Regions from separate parts of the Homo sapiens genome. Here all the other regions are linked to region 4. Evidence: promoter capture Hi-C in 16 types of primary human blood cells and fetal thymus (Javierre and others, 2016). All regions are on one chromosome and are shown on one strand. Each heading gives the region's core, a stretch centred on a gene start or on the middle of the fragment in contact. The rest is flanking DNA. Distances are from core to core; before and after follow the strand shown.

The links. The method cuts DNA at HindIII sites, captures the fragments that hold promoters and counts their contacts. A CHiCAGO score of 5 or more calls a contact.
Region 1: a fragment that was not itself captured here is called in contact with the fragment with the promoter of BCL9 in region 4 in 2 of 17 cell types (megakaryocytes and fetal thymus); the score reaches 7.2 in megakaryocytes.
Region 2: a fragment that was not itself captured here is called in contact with the fragment with the promoter of BCL9 in region 4 in 1 of 17 cell types (fetal thymus); the score reaches 6.0 in fetal thymus.
Region 3: a contact is called between a fragment that was not itself captured here and the fragment with the promoter of BCL9 in region 4, in 6 of 17 cell types (M2 macrophages, naive B cells, M1 macrophages and 3 more). The highest score is 7.2, in M2 macrophages.

Annotation. Positions count from the first base shown.
Region 1 is chr1:147,257,455-147,262,184 of GRCh38, forward strand. It overlaps CHD1L (chromodomain helicase DNA binding protein 1 like), which reads left to right. Exons shown (of 23, transcript NM_004284.6): 6 at 2,383-2,464. Among named protein-coding and RNA genes, the nearest start is that of CHD1L, 17 kb to the left of the region's middle. The HindIII fragment of the contact is 1,969 bases long and covers 2,362-4,330 here.
Region 2 is chr1:147,922,127-147,926,906 of GRCh38, forward strand. It overlaps LOC105371229 (a long non-coding RNA gene), which reads right to left. Exons shown (of 3, transcript XR_922074.4): 1 at 4,746-4,780; 2 at 1,296-1,400. Among named protein-coding and RNA genes, the nearest start is that of GPR89B, 3.9 kb to the right of the region's middle. The HindIII fragment of the contact is 4,332 bases long and covers 214-4,545 here.
Region 3 is chr1:147,882,520-147,887,385 of GRCh38, forward strand. No RefSeq gene overlaps it. Among named protein-coding and RNA genes, the nearest start is that of GJA8, 18 kb to the right of the region's middle. The HindIII fragment of the contact is 490 bases long and covers 2,115-2,604 here.
Region 4 is chr1:147,538,538-147,543,136 of GRCh38, forward strand. It overlaps BCL9 (BCL9 transcription coactivator), which reads left to right and starts at 2,964. Exons shown (of 10, transcript NM_004326.4): 1 at 2,964-3,137. RefSeq lists enhancers at 2,622-2,916, 2,635-3,389, 2,950-3,009. The HindIII fragment of the contact is 5,169 bases long and covers 2,873-4,599 here.

The sequences.
Region 1 (4,730 bases), core at 2,096-4,595, 280 kb before region 4:
TTATTAATATTCAACTTAATATTTGTTGAAAGTCAGTCACTGGAAAGACATTGTTCTGAGAGTTATTGGCAATATCAGGAAAGTAAATCATAGAGCTTCCCTAAGAAGACAAACTCCAGTGGAGGGATGAGAAGTGTACAGATATCCATAATACATAGCAATATATGGGAAGTCTCAAAAGATAATAAAATTGGGACATAAATGTTGCTGGGTACTTTACATAAATTATCCCATTTAATTTTCATGAAAACCCCACGAGGCAGCTATTATTCATTTTACGGGTGAGGAAAATAAGAGATTTGGTAACCCATCCAAGGTTACATTGCTGATGATAAATAGCAGAGCAGACATTTAAACCCAGCATTTGGTGCTGTGGAGCCTCTTTTTAAGAGAACTTCTCAAAATAGCTAGTTGTACTGGAGTTTTACATTATTCAGCAGAAATAGAATCTTTCTATTTCAGATAATCGGTTTTCAGTGCATTTTCAGGTAGATTTAAAAACCTAAGTAACAGAGGGACATTTATAATGCTGTCCTGTAGTATGAATCCCAACAACATAGATACATTCTTTCAATATATTTGGAAGGTTATATTGCTTATTGCTGTATTGTACATTCTGAGAATAGCAGGGAAGTGTAATATCATCTCTGCCCTAAAGAGATTTATTATGGAGAGTTAAGGCTGTGCATGTTACAAATATGAAAAATTTGAAATGTTTTGGACAATAGACTTGTAAAACTCTTTGGATCAAGAGGATTAGAAGTTACCTCATCCAACTTTCCATTCAGTGCTGGATTTCCCCCATCTTTTCCTCTTCAGGGGACATCATTTAGAGTATCCTTTGATAAGTGATTTGACCCACTTCCTTTCATGAGCCAAAATCCACCACTCTGTAGCCTGTTTCACTGAACAAGCATTTTTTGGACACCTAAATGTCTAGTTCTTCACAAGGGAATAGGACCTAATCTGTTTTGAAAGCTAATTCAGACAGAGCCAGGCACCATCCTAGAGAAACTTCCATACCTTATCTCATGACCACTGTGCAACTTCAACTGGACCTTTGTTTCTTGTCATCCTTAAATGCATCCTCTGCTCATGCCACCCAACCTTCTCCTTCGACTTCCTGCACTCTCTTTGGACCCTCAGTCCTCCCTCTACTCGCTTCTCTCAGTAGGTGAATGGTAATGTCATAGGGACCTCTGTTCCTCTGCCTGTCCTCTGGAGTTTCTCTGTAGCCTCAGGAAGAGGGCCTCCTCCTTGTAAGGTGAACCTCTGCTCAAGATCTTTCTCTAATTTTGGAGGAATTTTCCTTTCCATACCTACTATTTTTCCAGTGTTCTGTTTTACCTGTATATACATTTAGTTTTTTAAATATGAAAATAATGTAATGGGATTCCAGAATGTTTATAATCAAAATAAAAAGTTAAACATCTTATAATTTTCACTTTATTATCTTTTGCATGGCTTTCACATTTGTAAAAGAGGATACATGATATTTATATCTTTTTTATTATTCTATAGGCCTTTTAAATTGCAACATAATCATATTTATTATTTAAAATGCCATGTAATATTTTACTACCTATTATTGGACATTTAGGTTATTTTCCATTTTTTGCTGTTTTAAATAATACAACTTGAAACATTCCCACATATATCTTTTTCTGTATTTTGAATTTTTCTTAAATAGCTTCTCAGTAGTATCTGTCAAAGTATTTGCTTTTATGACTGAAACTTCTTGAGAAATTGCTGATGTGACACAGTATGCTACAAAATGTGCTCTGGCAACAGCCACTAATGACTTCCATGTCAACAAATTCAGTGGATATATCTTCCTGGACATCTCTGTGAGATTTGACTCTGCTCACCACTTACCCATTTTAAAGTCACACTTCTTAAGTTCCTACAACACCACTGTCTATCTTGATTTTTTTCTTCTGTTTGAACATCAGCTCTGTCTTTATGACCTTCACCAAGTCACCTAACCTTTCTGAGCTTTAGTGTCTTTATTAGTAAAATGAGCACAATTGTCTGCTTGCTATACTCTTTTAGACTAAATAACACATAAAGCCCTGAGGTTAGTGTCTGGCACAAAGTAGGAGATCATAAATGTTTCCTTTTCCTTTCTGTCTCTGGCTTCTTCCTTTCTGCATAGGTCTTTCCCATTTTGTTAAAAAAAAAAATCCCTTGGTTTTACTACCTTATCCAGATATTGTATTATGCACATGTAGCCTCTCAGGAAGGTAATTTGGTGGCATTTGTAATAGAAGGGGCTTACTGTTAAGTCTTTTTAATAACAGTCACAGTTTTGTAGTAAGACTTTTGATTGTGAAATATGTGTTTAAATTACACAAAACTGAAAGCTTGGGTTTTCTCTCACAGATTCCCTTGGAGTGTTCTTGTTGTGGATGAAGCTCACAGGTTGAAAAACCAAAGCTCCCTGCTGCATAAGACCTTGTCAGAGGTAAACTTACAGTGTAGCCTTAGTTTTTATATAACCCCTTCTTTTTAAATATACATTATATTTTAGAGTAATTTTAGATTCACAACAAAATTGAACAGAAACTACAGATGTTTCCCATGCATATGTCCCCACACATGTACAGCTGTCCCCTGTCCCCACACTTGTACAGCTTCACCCATTATCAACATACCCCACCAGAGTGGCACAGTTGTTGCAACTGATGAACCTACATTGATACATCGCTATCACTCAAAGTCCATAGTTTACATTCGGGTTCACTCTTGGTGGTGTGCATTCTGTAGGTTTGGACAAATGTACAATACCATGATATCTACTGTTATAGTATCATACAGAGTAGTTTCACTGCCCTAAAAATCCTATGTGCTCCACATATTCATCTTTTCTTCGTAACTCCCTTTAAAAAATACTAGTTTAGGCCTATATAGAGTCAATTAAATTGAAACCTTTTTTCGAGTTCGATTTCTGCAGGGCTAAATGAACATTTTATAGAAGACAGAAGAAGTACTAAATATGGCCTAACTTCTTCTTTCTTTTATATTGGAGATAGGTTTACTAATATCTGGTGAATAAGAACCCTACCCCAATAGAATGCATTTTATTTCAGATGTTTCAACTCTCTTTTGATTATCTTCAAAGGAACAATTTCTCTTAAAAAATCTTATTATAATTCTTCTTTGTGCAATAGTAGATATATCAGACATGTTGTACCCTTCCCCCCAATTTACCTGTTGAAAAAATTTGATAGTTCACCTGGGTTCATGAAGAGACCAATTACATGCTATTGAATATTACCTCCAGTTTGTCTTGTCTTTGTCCTACTTTTGAGCATAATACACTTGCTTTCATTCCTTTCTCTGGATCTCTTGCATCATTCTGGCAAAGTAGATGAGAAATACCATTGTACCCTAGATGGGCCCTTTTTTCCGAGGAGTCAGTGCGATGTGAAATACCCTTTTTATTGACCTGGTAAAGATTTGTTCATTGATGAGACCACATATGTTAATTTCTGTGATGATAATTGAAGTTTGGTCCTTGTCCTATAATAAACCAATTAATAAATTTAGAGGTCACTTGGAGGAAAGTCTTAGATATGAATTCTATTTTTACTGGTCTGAAAGTTGTAGTTTTTAGAGTCTTAATGTAGATACGATCACTGTGTATTATTAGCCCAGTCTCAAAGGTCGCTGTCCCCTGGTGGGGCCCCCTCTATCCCTGGTGTCCTTTGCTTTCTTTGTAGGGACTTTTAACAGTATCTCCTTCTGAGAGCTTGTCTTGGTCTGTTTTTCACAGACTGGGTAATTCATATGAGCAGAAATTTATTTATCACCGTTCTAGAGGCTGGGAAGTCCAAGATCAAGGTGCCAGCATTTGGCAAGAGCCTTCTTAACTGCATCCTCACATGACAGAAGGTGGACGGGCAAGAGGGAGCAGAAGAGCAAGCTATCCAAATGCTGCATGACACTTTTTTTTTTTTATATATAAAGGCCTTAATCTTATTCACGAGGGAAAAGTTCTTATGAACTAACCACCTCTTAAAGGCGCTACCTCTTAATAATATTACATTGACAACACCTGAATTTTGAAGGAAACACATTCAATCCATAGCAGTTGTCATATCCTGGCATCTAACCTTATGAAAGATGGCTTCATAAACTACTGTGCCAGTTTACTAATTTAAAACGGGAGGAGAGAAGCAGGCATAGTAAAAGAACCTGGATTTGGAGTGGGAAAGCTAAGTTCTGTTGCTGGCCCCAGAGCCTTTTCTTGTTATTCATAAGGAAACTAAGGCTCAGGGATTAAGTGAAGAAATGGTTCTGGGTCATCTAAGCATTCCTTTTTAGATGAAGCTTGGGTTGCAGATAACTAGTTGGAAAGAAAATACATGTATTTATTGGGCTGAGATGGGGAGGGGGATACTGCCGTTTTTTATTTCCCCCTAATATTGTTTTCAGTTTATAAAAGTTGGACGCAACCAGCCGGGCGCAGTGGCTCACGCCTGTAATCCCAGCACTTTGGGAGGCTGAGATGGGTGGATCACGAGGTCAGGAGATCGAGACCATCCTGGCTAATACGGTGAAACCCCGTCTCTACTAAAAAATTCAAAAAATTAGCTGGGCATGGTGGTGGGCGCCTGTAGTCCCAGCTACTTGGGAGGCTGAGGCAGGAGAATGGCGTAAACCTGAGAGATGGAGCTGGCAGTGAGCCGAGATTGCGCCACTGCACTCCAGCCTGGGCGACAGAGCGA
Region 2 (4,780 bases), core at 1,130-3,629, 380 kb after region 4:
TCTTTGAAGAGAGTTGTCAGACTAGAAGAAAGAGCTGTGGTGTTTCTCACCCCCTTCCCTCACTCCCCTCCAAGTGAGGGGCTCAAGGAAAACCCCTGAGACTTTTTGGGAAGCACTTGCTGGGAGGGAGGCCTGACCTCTTTCTCACTAGTCATTAGTGGCCTATTGGTCTGCAGAAGTTCACAGGCTCATCTCCGGCTACCACAGTAGCCAAGCTTGCAGGACCTTGATGTGTGTCCTCAGAATTTGCTGGAACATAGACACAGTGACCTTCCCTTGCCCAGGGAAAATTGGAGGCTTGAATAAGTGTTTCTTGTGGGCCAAATTCTTCACCATCATATTATTTTATTATAGTAAACACCACCAAAAAAATAATCCAAAAGGTAGATTGGTTAACTTACTCATGAGATAACCATATGATGGAATGTTACTGAGTCAATAAAAATGCTATAAAGTCTTTGGCAAAAGAAAATATTCATAATATACATTTTTTTTGAGACACCCAGGCTGGAATGCAGTGGTGCAATCACAGATTATTACAGCCTCAACCTCATAGGCTCAAGCAATCCCCACACTTCAGCCTCCAGAGTATCTGGGATTACAGGTGTGCACCACCATGCCTGGCTAATTTTTTTTTTTTTTTAATAGAGACAGGGTCTCCCAATGTTATCCAGGTTGGTCTCAAACTCCTGGACTCAAGTAATCCTCTCACTTCGGCCTCCCAAAGTGCTGGGATTACAAGTTTTAGCCACCATGCCTGTCCTATAATATATTTCTTTTTTTTGTTGTTTTTTGTTTGTTTGTTTGTTTTTTGTTTTTTAGACAAAGTCTTGCTCTGTCACCCAGCCTGGAGTGCAGTGGCACAATCTCGGCTCACTGCAACCTCCGCCTCCCAGGTTCAAGCAATTCTTCTGCCTCAGCCTCCCAAGTAGGTGGGATTACAGGCATGTGCCACCATGCCCAGCTAATTTTTGTATTTTTAGTAGAGATGGGGTTTCACCATGTTGGCCAGGCTGGTCTCAAACTCCTGACCTGAAGTGATCCACCCACCTCGGCCTCCCAAAGTGCTGGGACTACGGGCGTGAGCCACCATGCCCAGCCCCATAATATATTTCTAAAATGAAATATAATGAAAACTATGTAACAACATAGTATGCTCATTGTCTTAGTTCAAGCTACTATAACAAGATACCATACATTGGGTGGCTTCAACAACAAACTTTAAAAAATTTTTTATTCTTAAGTTTTATGGGTGCATAGTAGGTGTATATATTTAACAAACATTTATTTCTTACAGTTCCAGATGCCAGAAGTCCAAGATCAGGGTGCCAGCATGGTCACTTCTTGGTGAGGGCCCTCCTTCTGGTTCACAGACAGCTGCCTTCTCACCATATACTCACCTGTCAGAAAGAGAGTGTGCTGGTCCTTCATCTCCTTGGAAGGGCACAAATCCCATCATGGGGCTTCACTCTCATTACCTCATCTAAACCTAATCAGCTCCCAAAGGCCCCTCCTCCAAATACTATCACATCGGAAACCAGGGCTTCAACATATGCATTTTGGGGGTACACAAACAGGATCCATTTTTTCAATATTGGATCACTAGGAGTCCATAGCACTCCTTGTGATCCAGTTTTGGGAAAATCAAAAGGTATATGTGCATTGGTGTGGGTATGCATCACGTTAACCAAGAATAAGAATGAATATCCCAGACTTTGGAAATATGCCAGTGTTGTACTCCTTTGCAACTGTCTTAATGTCATGGTGGCAAATCTCAATCCAGTGGTAAAGGTGGGCACTTCTTTAAAATAAGCAAATGTCCCTGCTGGTAGTTATCCCAAAAAGAAGTTAGTCCTGGAGCAAGAAGTGGTGGGGCAGTAGGGAGAGCTTTCTGCTCTGCCTGAGCACAGACAGCAGGGGACCAGAAGTTTGGAACAGTTCATACATTAAGAATATGAACATCCTTTACTTTGAACTTCAACTAATATATTCCATTTAAAATTTAATCTCTACACATTCTTCCCCTTTGTTCACAAAATATATGGATCAAATTCATTCTGCATGATAATTATATTAACAGAGAATCCCAAAATTAGTTTTAATAAATGGAAAAAGTTGGTGTTATATATTTCAAATAATGCCGCTGAATCTTTCCAAATTTGGGAGCTCTACAATCATCAATCTTTTCAGTATAATTTGAATAACTGACAACCAAAACTTTTAAACATACATTTATAAATATTAATAAATAAATATACATTGAAACTAATTAACAATGAAGGAAAACTGAACGTAAACTCATAATAATAATAATGGGTAAAAATTATTGCATACTTACTATAAAGTGCTTATTTTCCTGAGGGCTTTATGTATATTAATCTTCATAATAGCCTTATGAGATAAGGTACTATTACTATCTCTATTTTTTAGATGAGGAAACTGAAGTACAGAGAGTTTAGTAACTTGCATAAAACCACACAACTATTTAATCTTCTTTATTCCTCAGGAACACGGCCTCAAGAACAACCAAGCACTTGATACAGAGTTAACTCTAACTCATATGAACCAATCAGTGCACACCAGGTCAGCACCAAGGTCAATATATCCAAAATGAGATTGTATAAGAGGAAAGGACCGGAATGCACCTCCAAGAAGGTCTGGCAAAGTGAGAATCAGCTAGGCAAGAGGTTCAAAGTAGACTCAAGGAAGATGAAGGGGAATTCTTGAGCCAAAGCACAAGTGGTTGGAAAAGATTTTTAGGCTTCCTGAGGCTGTGGAGTGAGCATATCTAGAGAAAGGGGGGTGGGAGTGGAAAAAAGGAAAGAGCAAAGCTAGCACCACTCTGGCCCTTAGTCCCCTTTCTCTAGGCAAATCAGAACTGGCATTTTCCTAGTGTGAAGGCGCTGACTCACTCTAGGAAAGTTTTGAGGTGGGGAGCAGAGTCTCACAACCAGTCCCCAGTCAGTGTGCATAAGAATCTCCTGGGAAGCTGTTAAAAATGCAGATTACTTCTAAAAAAAAAATTGAATGCACAAAAGCAGAGAGTAGAGTGGAGATTACCAGGGGCTGGGGGGGGGGATAGTTGGGTGGGGTAGGGGAGATGTTGGTCAAAGGAAATTTCAGTTAGATAACAAGAGTAAGTTCAAGAGATCTATTGTACAATATGGTGACTATAGTTAATAACAATGTATCCATTTTTGAAAATCTCTAAGAGAGTAGATTTTAAGTATTCTCACCACAAAAAATAAGTATCTGAAGTAATACATATGCTAATTACCTTGATTTAGCCATTCCACAATGTATACATATTTCAAGACATCATTTTGTGCATGATAAATGTATATAATTTTTATATATTATGACTCCCAGATTCCTCCTCAGAGTCACTTTCAGAAATCCCAAGTCCACTGGTCTACATTAGGGCTTATGAATCTACATTTTAAATAAGCCCCCCAAGTCGTTAGAGAACCACACTTTGAGAAAACTGCACCTATACATTTTCTAGGTATCAAGTATAGATACTGTCCATGGGACCATTGGGAAATAAACACTTTTCCTCTGAATACTTGGGGTTTCCTGTCCAGCTTACACTGGTGACTTAGTGGGGCAAACAGGGGAGTTCAGAGACTCAGTGAACCTGGCACAGTAGGCAAAACTACAAGATAGGATGTCTATCCATGAAGGGAGACAGCGGGAGTAGGATGCCACAGAATTGGTGATATCATATGTCTCAAAAGATCCCAGACTTACAACTGCATGTGAATCTACAACTATGTCACAGTAAGTAAAAATTTTCAAGAGAAAATCCCTAACAGAGATCATCCAGCCACTGGCATGAGCAGGTGCTATGTATGTGCATGGAGAAGAGGTACTAGGGTGTCTCCCAGGGATCTAGTGTTAGTGTCAACTCCTGGGCCCAGTCCTTTGCATTAATTTGGAGGAAGGGGATGAAGTAGTTAGCTGTCAGTATGTGGATGGTGCTGGGAAGTGTGAGAGTACCGTAGGTATGAACATTGCAGTTGCTATGACAAAGGACAGTAAAGTGGTGTGAGCAAACACTCATCCAAAGGACACAGACTGATCATCTTGTCAGTCGACTCTTTGTAGCACATCTATGGGACTGGCTGCCAATCTCTGGATGAGTGGCAAACAATGGCTACTAGTTATGAACATGACATATTTTGAAAAGCTCCCTTGGAAAAAGCACAAACTGGGGACTCAGAGCCCAGATGGTGTGACTGTCCATGGAGGCAGAACCAAAAGATCCCACTATTCTAAGAGGATGGCAGCAGCTAGAGTGGATCGGGAGAATATTACCAGCGGTAGAGATGGGAGGACAAGCCATTTTAGTGTCAGAGTCCACCACCAGCAGAAGAGACTTGCTTTGAAAGGAGAGTCAATTGGATACTAAATGCTGTGCGAAGGTTTCTAAAGACATTCCTCAATCAAAATCAGGGGATAAAGCAGTCGCTTGAATCACCTAGGCCTGTCCTTTACCTGGACACAAGTGGTACAGTAGGGAGAATTCTGAATAGTGTCACCCAAAGCTTTGCATAGGCCTTAGGCCAGCAGGTATTGCACACCTTTCTCTGCTATTCCTCGTTACTGATATTCTGATCCCCACTGTGCACCCCAGTAAGCCACCAAGGTAAACTGCTTGCCTTGATAGTCTCTTTCAGCACTCTGCACTCTACACACTCTTGAATGTCAGTTAGGTGCTGTTATGTGGGAATCTACCTGCTTACCTAATAGACATAGCCTGGACACAAAGTTCTCTGGT
Region 3 (4,866 bases), core at 1,110-3,609, 340 kb after region 4:
AAACATGGATTACTTATAAATGTTTAATTTCCAAATATCTGGAGATTTTTCTAGATATTTTATTATTATTAATTTCTAATTTAATTGATTTATAATTTAATTCTATTGTAGCTAGAGAATATATTATATATAATATTAACCTTTTAAAAGTATTAAGAGTTATTTTATGACTCAGCGTATGATTAATTTTGGTGACTGTTTCCTGGGCACTTAAAAAGAATGTTTATTCTGCTGTATAAGGTAGATTGTTCTATGAATGTCAATTAGGTCAAATTGTTGATTGTGCTGCTCAGGGCTTTTTATCCTTACTGATTTTTTATCTACTTGCTCTATAAATTACTTAAAGAAAGCTATGTTGTTAAAATCTCTCACTATAATTAGATATTTGTTTATTTTTCCTCTTAGTTATGTCACGTTTTGCTTCTGTTATTAGATACATTTATATTTAGGATTGTTATGTCATCCTGTTGCACTGATTTACACTTAGGAGTAAACAGGGACTAGAAATAGACTAGCCCTCAAAAAGAATAAATCTCAGCTTCTGATAAACTCAGTCATTGATTGGATTGAGATAATTTGTCAGCACCGATTATCTAAACCTGGATCACAACCACAGCTACCTTCAATATACACCTTCTTTTAGCCTAGAATTGGGCAGAGTTTTGACTATGAAGTTTAGGCTAATCTGGTGTGCAGATATGCCATGCAATTCCTTCAGTTTTCAAAATCTAGACTTGCTAGTATGTCATTAGTATTTTATTAGCTAGCCTGTATGCTAGACACCCAGGATTTAGTGGTGCCAAATGTTGATTCCTTGTATTGGTTTATTTATACATTTTGTTGTCTGACTCTTTAAGAAGTTCAGGTCATTGCTTGAGACAAATTGTATTTATTCATTAATTCAACAAATACTTTTTGAGTATCTAACAGAGTAAAACTCCTGCAATGACAATGCACTAGAATATAAGACCCTGATATTGGCTTCCTTCTTCCATTCAGCCACTATTCTCAAATTAGCAGACAGCTTTCTTATTATTTGAGGAAAAAGAGAAAATGTGGAAAGAAGAAGAGGGGCAGGATGGAAAAAATAGGGGAAATGGTGGTAAATTTGTCTTTGGAAGCAGCGAAGTGGAGGGTAAGTCCCAGCATCCCTAATGTTTTTCTGGACCTATCTACTTGAATTGGGCCAAGTGGGTACCACTAACCAGGAGATGTTTGGAATCACTGCTCTTTCCCTGGAAATCCCAACAACAGGACCCAGAAGCATCCCCATCAATATTTAGGCTAGAGCAGACAACTACTATCAGGAGTTGCCAAAACATAGCCAGGTGGTAATGAATTTAGATGGGAGTTCCCTGCTGGCTAGCTGTGCTGGCCAGCCCCAGTTATTTTATTAACCTAATTAATTTGACCCCTCATTCTTTATTTATTATGACTTTTGGATAATATTTAATCAAAGAACAGCAAAATTTTATTAATATGAATTTTAATTAATATGCCCTCAAGGAACTTGCATTTTATTGGAGAAGCCAGCCAGGTTAACCAATAACTACCATGCAATTTAATAAAGTCCATAATAGAGGTATGGACCAAATGGTACCATCCCAACCAAACAAGAGGATCATTAACTGTTTTTCTTTTTTCATGTTTTTCAAGAGACCATAGTGATCATCTTCATTGTAAACACGTTTGAGTGTTGAACAGGTCAAGAATGATGGGTTTTATATCTTTGTGGCAGCAACAAATGAATGTGTTAAAACAAATAATACAAATGAAACAACCACCATCCCCTCCTGCAGTATGATTTTCTTTCATTGATTCTATTCAGTGTTACTGTTATTGTGGTTATTATTTCAGTCATTCTTGAGTTAAAGCTAGAACCACATAAAGTCGATTCTTAAACTAAACTAATTAACTCTTAAGCAGGTATAAACGTGAACTCCATTTGACTATGCCAATAGAAAAATAGACCAGTTAGTTTAAGGACACTATGAAAATCATTAAACTTAAAACTAACATGGTGTGGGGCAGGGGAGAACAATCCCTCTGAGACCAGTGCTTTTTAAATTTCCAAGAATAGAAGAAGTGATAACAAGAAAAATCATACAGTTGGAAGCTTAGCATTTTACAAGGCAGCTAGAGAGGACCCAGAGGAGAAGCCTATCCAAGATTGATCTCTGTAATGGTTAATTTTATATGTCAACTTGATTGTGCTAAGGGATGCCCATTTAACTGATAAAACATTATTTTCAGGTGTGTCTATTAGGATGTTGTAGCAAAAGATTATAATTTAAATCAATATGCTGAGTAAAGAAGATTCATTTCCCCCAGTATGGGTGAGCATCTTCTAATCTATTAAAGGCCCAAATAGAACAAAAAGCAGGAGAAAGGGTAAATTCTCTCTCTCTTCTTGAGCTGGGATACCCATCTTCTCCTGCTCTCAGAAATTGGAGCTCCTAGTTCGCAGGCCTACAGACTTCAGGATTTACTCCAGTGCCTTCCCCACCAACTCCCCATCCCACCAGCTCTCAGCTTTGAACCAGGAGTTACACCATCGATTCCCCTGGTTCTCAGGCCTTCAGACTTGAACTGAATCGCATCACAAGCTTTCCTGGTTCTCCAGCTTGCAGATGGCATATTGTGGGACTTCTTGGCCTCCATAATCACGTGAGCCAAATCCCATAACAAATCTCTTATATGCCTATATATATATCAGATTGGTTCTGTTTCTCTGGAGAACCCTCACTAATACAATCTCATGTGGACAATACAAGTTAAAGGAAGACGGAAGACCAAAATCCCTGGGCATGCATCTTCTCAATGTCCTTACCTTGCTCTCACTGCCCAGTTCTTTCACTGCCTCTTCTTCCAATCTACTTGAACAGTTAACCAAACAGCAGCTAACTGGTCTGGTCAGCTGGTTGTGATCATTCCGACCCTGGGAATGATTGCAGTAGGGTCTCAAAAATACAATGTACAGGCAAAAGTTTACAGCAGGAAGCATGAAAGGAACTGGATTACGTATAAACCATGAAACATATCTGCCAGGTCCTCTTCCTTAAAAAGGATGGATCTAATTATACAGGGGATCACAAAGGGGGCAGAATTTGTAGGAATGACCCCCCCAGAGTTTCACATTACCAAGACTAAGGGAAAAGTTTTAGGGAGAACTTTGGTGTCTCTAAACAGAAATAACTCCAGCTTGGCAATGAGATATGCGTCTCTTTTCTCTACGATCTTCTGGGTCTTGGTCCCTTTCATGCACTTTCATATTTGCCAGTTATGTGTCTCAGTTTATTTTATCCAAGCCCTCCATCAACTGATTATATTTCATCTCTAATTTTAACAGGCATGTGAAAGTACAGGATCTTCCACCCCCATCTCAGAGCAGACATCTTATTTCCTAGACTTTCATTTCAAGGCCAACCCAATAAAAGACATTGAACTTAAAATGTTATAAAATATGCTTCCACTAATCCCCAATTTAAAGCTCAGTTGTAGACTCTTTCCTCCCCCCAACCCCATTTCTTTAGTAAGAGAAAGTAAGTAATGTTACCAAACTCTTGAAGTCCAGCTGCTGTCTCTAACTCTAACCAAAAGACACGTACCATGTAATGGAAAAAATGCAAGTTATAAACTTCAAATTTGGGCCTGGATATAAATCTTGATTCTACCACTTCTTAGCATTATGACCTTGAGCAAGTGAATAATATATTTAACTGCATTCCCAAATCTGTAAAACAGGAATAAAAGAGTTACTTTATAGGGCTTTAATAATGATGAAGTGAAATGATGTATATAAAGGTGCCAGCCTTATAATGTACATTTAATAAGTTATGACTATTTTAAAAGGGATCTTCAAGTTTTGTAATAATGTTGGTGTTCACATCTGCATATGCCTAACTGTTAGCATAGAACTGGTGAATGAGAAATGCATTGTGTCAATTCCTGAAAGTATGAGTGATGGACAGTAGCAGACCTTTCTGCTCATAATTTTGGTCAAGAAGTTGTGCTTTCTTATTTTTTTGTGAGATTTCCAACCAAAATAGATGATGAACTCATAAATATGAACTGGTCTCTGTGCTCCAGCAACTGATAGAAGCATTTCTCAACCTATTCCCACCCACTCCTGGGCCTTTCCCACTCACCAGGTAGAATTTTGAGAAAGAAATTGGCCTCCTTCAAGAGAGAAAGTTCAGGCAGAAACAGCACCCCAGGCATTACACAGGAGCAATCTTGTGCCCATTCAGAGACTAACCACAATCCAGATGAATCCAGACAAAGCCTTAGTTAGCACTTCACAGTTTTCAAAGGGCTTTCATATTTCTCACCTCCTGGGCAAGGCCAACTCTTCATTATACCCATATTTAGCACTCTGTATATGTCTTCATTGTGATGACGATGATGACTTTTTTTTTTTTTTTTTTTTTTGAGACAGAGTCTCACTCTGTTGCCCAGGCTGGAGTGCAATGGCACGATCTTGGCTCACTGCAACCTCTGCCTCCTGGGTTCAAGTGATTCTCCTGCCTCAGCCTCCCACGTAGCTGGGATTACATTCACTGGCCGTCATGCCTGGCTAATTTTTGTATTTTGTAGAGAAGGGGTTTCACCATGTCGGCCAAGGTGGTCTTGAACTCCTGACCTCAGGTGATCTGCCCACCTCAGCCTCCCAAAGTGCTGGGATTACAGGCATGAGCCACCACGCCTGGCCCATTGTGATGATTATTAATTAGATGATAATGATTGCTCACGTGTATTATTTCTTCAGTGTCTATCTCCAGGAGGACAAGGACCATGTCTAACTAGTTCAGCATTGTATTTCCAGCTCCTAGCCCAGTGCCTGGCACGTAGTAGGTACTCAATAAA
Region 4 (4,599 bases), core at 1,714-4,213:
CCTGGTGTTCTTACCAACATGTTCTGGCCTGGAGGCCTGGCATTCTCTGTCCTCTGCCAAGTGGAGGAATTGGAAAATTAAAGGTTGTTTGGGGGCCTGGGCACATGCTTTCTTTTTCTTTAACTACTTATAGGAGATATCATGAGATTTAAAAATGCATGTGAAAGTGTTAGGATCATGATTGCCTCTTTCTTCTTTCTCTCATTGAGCATTTGTATTTTCACTCTAACAATTGGAACAAGTCTTTTTGCTGCCTTAGCAGTACAGCATAGTGGTGGGGATCCTGGTCTCTAGAAAGGCAGACCACCTGGGGCCATATCTCAGCCACTACTTCCTGGCTGGATTACCTTAACACGCTCCTTCACTTCTGTGCCTCAGCTCCTTCATCTAGAAAATAGACACACTGATAGTTTACACTGTATGGGGTTGTTTAATATATGGAAATTCTTAATAAATGTTAGTTGCTGTCATCACCATTATCATCAATATCTATGGGCCTTTTTAGTTTGCTTTTTTATTTAAAAAAATTTTTTATACTTAAGAAAGGGAAGCTTTTCTGGTCTTAGCTGCCTTTCTCTATTGCCTAGCAATCTGAAAATAGTGCAGTCATTGAAGGTTAAGTCGACCCTTTATGCAATTCTTGCCTGGGAGGCCTCATTGTGTATAGTGAGTCACCACCACTTAGAAGTGGACAGTGAGTCAGTAGCCTATTAAGGGGAGGTCAGAAGTTCCCCTGGCTCAAAATGAAAGGATCCAAACCCAACCCTGGGGTACAGAAAAAACAGTGTACTTATATGGCTGACTGGACTTGAAGTGCCATGGAGTACCTGGACTACTCCAGTGAGAAGGCATAATATGGCGGGTAAACGCTGGGGCTTTAGAATCACACAGGCCTCAGTTGGATTTCAGCTCTACCTCTGCCTTGCTGTGTGACCTCAGACAAGTTGCTTAACCTCTCTGTGCCTCGTTTTTCTATCATCTGTAAATGGAAATGATCATAACAAAAATTACTTCATGATACAAATGAGTGGGAAAATGCTAAGAATCAAGTAAATACTTAAAAAAAGGTTATTATTATTATTATTATATTACCACATCATCATCATTAATGGGAGTCGGGACAGACAGTTCAGGGATCAGGGATAATGGAGGAGCAAATTAAGGGGGAAAATAACAGGAACAAGTCTGTGTCTTTGATGTGGTGAGTTTTAGGTAGTGACACCTCATTTAGCTGGTGTTAAGTATGAAAGAAGTCATAATTTATTCTTTACTGCATACCTATGAAGGAATGAGTGATGTGTGTTCTCATAATTTCCATTTTGTAAAGGAAGATTCTGAGGAATAGAGTCTAAACAATCTTCATGAAAAAGTACAGAACTGATTCAGCAGCAGTTAGGAGCTAAGCTTCCATTCAGATCCTGTTGCATAGGGATAACTCTTCTGGCCTAGGCAGAGGAGACCTTGTTAGGTCTGTGAGTCCACAGTATCTAAAAATATGAATGTCATATAATCATCCTGTCATTCTTCTTCCTGATCTCAATTGGCCCTCCTGATTTCATGCCATCTGCAAATTTGCACATCCTTTGTGCTCCTTTTTGCTCACATTTTATGCCTTCTTTTACCATCTCATTTACTCTGCATGTTTCAATCTTTCTGGGCTTCCATTTTTCTTCTTTTTTTAATGCAGTGTTGTTTCTCTCTCTCTCTCTCTCTCTCTCTCTCTCTCTCCACTCCTTTACAGCCCCCACCTCCTCCCTCCACACCAATCAAATTCCTGCTTGTTTCTTGCCATATTCATTATCCTACCTCATTCCCCTCTTATTCCTAGAAAACAGCACACTCACCCTCCCCTCCTCCAACTCTCAGGCCCACCCTCCATAAATTCCAGCAGCCTGGCAATCAGTAACTTTAGCATCACACTTCACAGCTCTCCTAGTTTACACTACTTGTTACTACTCTCCTTGCTACTGCTCTCTAGGGTTTCTGCTAAAATAAAAAATAAAAAAAAATAAAAAAAGCTTCACTTTAAAAATATCTTGGGTACAAGTTGAACCTACAGTTAAGTTTACTCACACATTTACACATTTCATGATTTTATTTTAACTAGTAGCTCAAGTCCATGCTCAATTATGCAGTGAAAGAAGGCTAGATCCTTAGGAAACAAATTTTTCTCTATTGTAAAGAAGAAAAATCACCTAACCACTCAACAGAAACCCCAGTCCTGGGGCCACTCACCCTCTTATCTCCCTACTCCCCCAATCTCCAGCTAATGGGACTTTGCTTTTTCCTTTGTCGGGTCATTTATTTCACTTTTCCTGGCGCTGAGATGGCCTGAGTCTGTGTATGTGTGCACACGTGTGTGGCCACTGCTTTTCTTCCAAAGGACTCACCTCTCTTCTGCCATTTTACTAGGACACAGGAGGCGGCTCTCTGCTCTCGCTCTCCCTCTCTTTTTCTCCCTGCCCCCAACTCAGCCTGGGCTTTTTCCTGTCTCTTAACTCCACCAGTGCAGCAGCAACTAGCTGAGCTGCTTGAGAGAGAGAGAGAAGAGAGAGAGAGAGAAGAGAGAGAGAGAGAGAGAGGAGAGAGAGAGAGAGAGAGAGAGAGAGAGAGAGAGAGAGAGAGAGAGAGAGAGAGAGAGTGTGTGTGTGTGTGTGTGTGTGTGTGTGTGTGTGTGTGTGTGTGCCTGCGTGCGCAGCTAGGCCAAGCCTGCGAGCCTGCCTGTCACTGGAGAGTTTTAGTTTGCATTCAGAAGAAAGGAGGAGGGGAGACAAGAGGGGAGGAGGAAAAGGTGGAGGGGGGAGGAGTGGGGGGGCGCAGAGAAGGGAGGGAGAATGTCTTGTTTGTGGCTTGTCAGCAATTGCTTGAGACAAGCTTCCATGTGTGAAAGCTACTTGGCATGAATGCCTGGGCCGTACCAAGTGTCACCGCAGCAAGAGGGGGAGTCAGAAGAAAAACAGATCAGACCAGAGCAGACAATAGGCCCCTAAAGTGTTCCCCCTAAGTTGCTTTGATGTTGTCCTGGTGTCTTGATACCAGGAGGCCAGGGATTGCGGGAAAAGGGTCTTTTTTGTCTTCATTCACTTTCCCCCCTCAGTTTCTGAAATGATTCTCCAGAATTTCTCCTCATAAAAAAGGTAAGAGCCCTAACAATTCCTTCTTCGGTGGCAGGCTTGTTCGCCTGTGCCTGGAAGTGGGGGTCTCATTCCTGCGCTGCTCTGGAGGAGCGCTGGGGTCCTGCGATTGGAGCTCCTGCGTTGCCCCTGGAAGTCTTTCAAGGCATCCAGGACTGGGGATGGCCCCTCTTTCGAGGGAACCCCAGTAACACGATCTGTGCCTCTGGGTTGGTGGGGGAGAAGGGGTGGATGGAGAGGGCTGGGAGGAGGGTGTGAGGGTGGGAGGGAAAAGAGAGAGAGAGAGGGAGCGCGAGAGAGGGAAGCCTGGAAAAGAGGGAGAGAAGGGCAGAGCCTTGGTTCAGGGAAACCCCAGCCCAGAGCCCAGGGAGGCCTTGCAGGCTCCGAGCTGTGCATTCTCAGGCTGAGCAAGGGCCGGCCAGGGCTCCGCCGAGTGACTGCAGAGATTGCATCGAGCTTTGTGTGTGCCAGTGTGCCCGTGGGTCTGTGTGTGCGTGTGGACTTCCCACACACTGCCCTGGCGTGCCTCGCTGTGAAGGGGAGGCACCCCGATCCTTACCACCCCAGCCCAGACTCTCCGAGGAGGAGCGGCATGGCAGGCAAGAAGGGAGAGCAAGAGAACTCTGCCACAAGACGATCCAGAAACTTTTCCAGTCTCAGGGATTCCTCTGGTCGTAGAGACTGTTGAGTTGTGGGGTGCCCCGTGCCTCAATTTCCCCATCTGTAAAATCAAGGTTGCTGATCAGGGATGCTGTATGCCTCCCTGGGATTGAGCGAAACAGAACAGATCACTGTGTCTGAAACGCGTGGAGAAATCGTCAGCTAGAGATGCTGTGGAATCACAGAGTAGAAGTGTTATCATTATTCTTGATCATCATCATCAGGGTAATAAAAACATCATTAAAGACACCCTGAGACAAATAGACTGAGGAGCACAGATCAAGTGTCTGAGCATTTCTAAGGAAACAAAAAGCCTTGTTCCACCTGTTGGCTTCTGTCCTTTTTCTCTTGTGTCTTTTCGTTAGATTTATTGGCCGATTTGTACAGAGAATGGGGTGGGAGGGGTTGGGTTTTCCCCTTTCCTCCTCCTTGTACGTATTTTTGTTTTAAAGAAGGTCAATGTAAGATGCTTGAGCGAGAAAATGTGCCTCCTGGTATAGTAGTTTATTCAAGACCTTGTGTTTTCTGGGGCTGGCAGGGCATGCAGACGCATCTGTAAACTCTACCTTGGAGGTTAAAGATTTTTATTGTGGCTTTTAGAGATTAAATGAGATTTATTTACAATTGCTGTTTATCAGAGAGTAAATATCTTACTGTGTGTGTACGAGGCTAAGAATGTGAAGGCTGTTTACTCGCCGGTGGTTTTGTGGATAAAACCTTTTGCTTTTTCAAGTGACATCTTGAGGGATGGAACAGAGGGCTAAAATCAGTGCCTAACATTCATCTTAACAATTTTTTTTGAGGA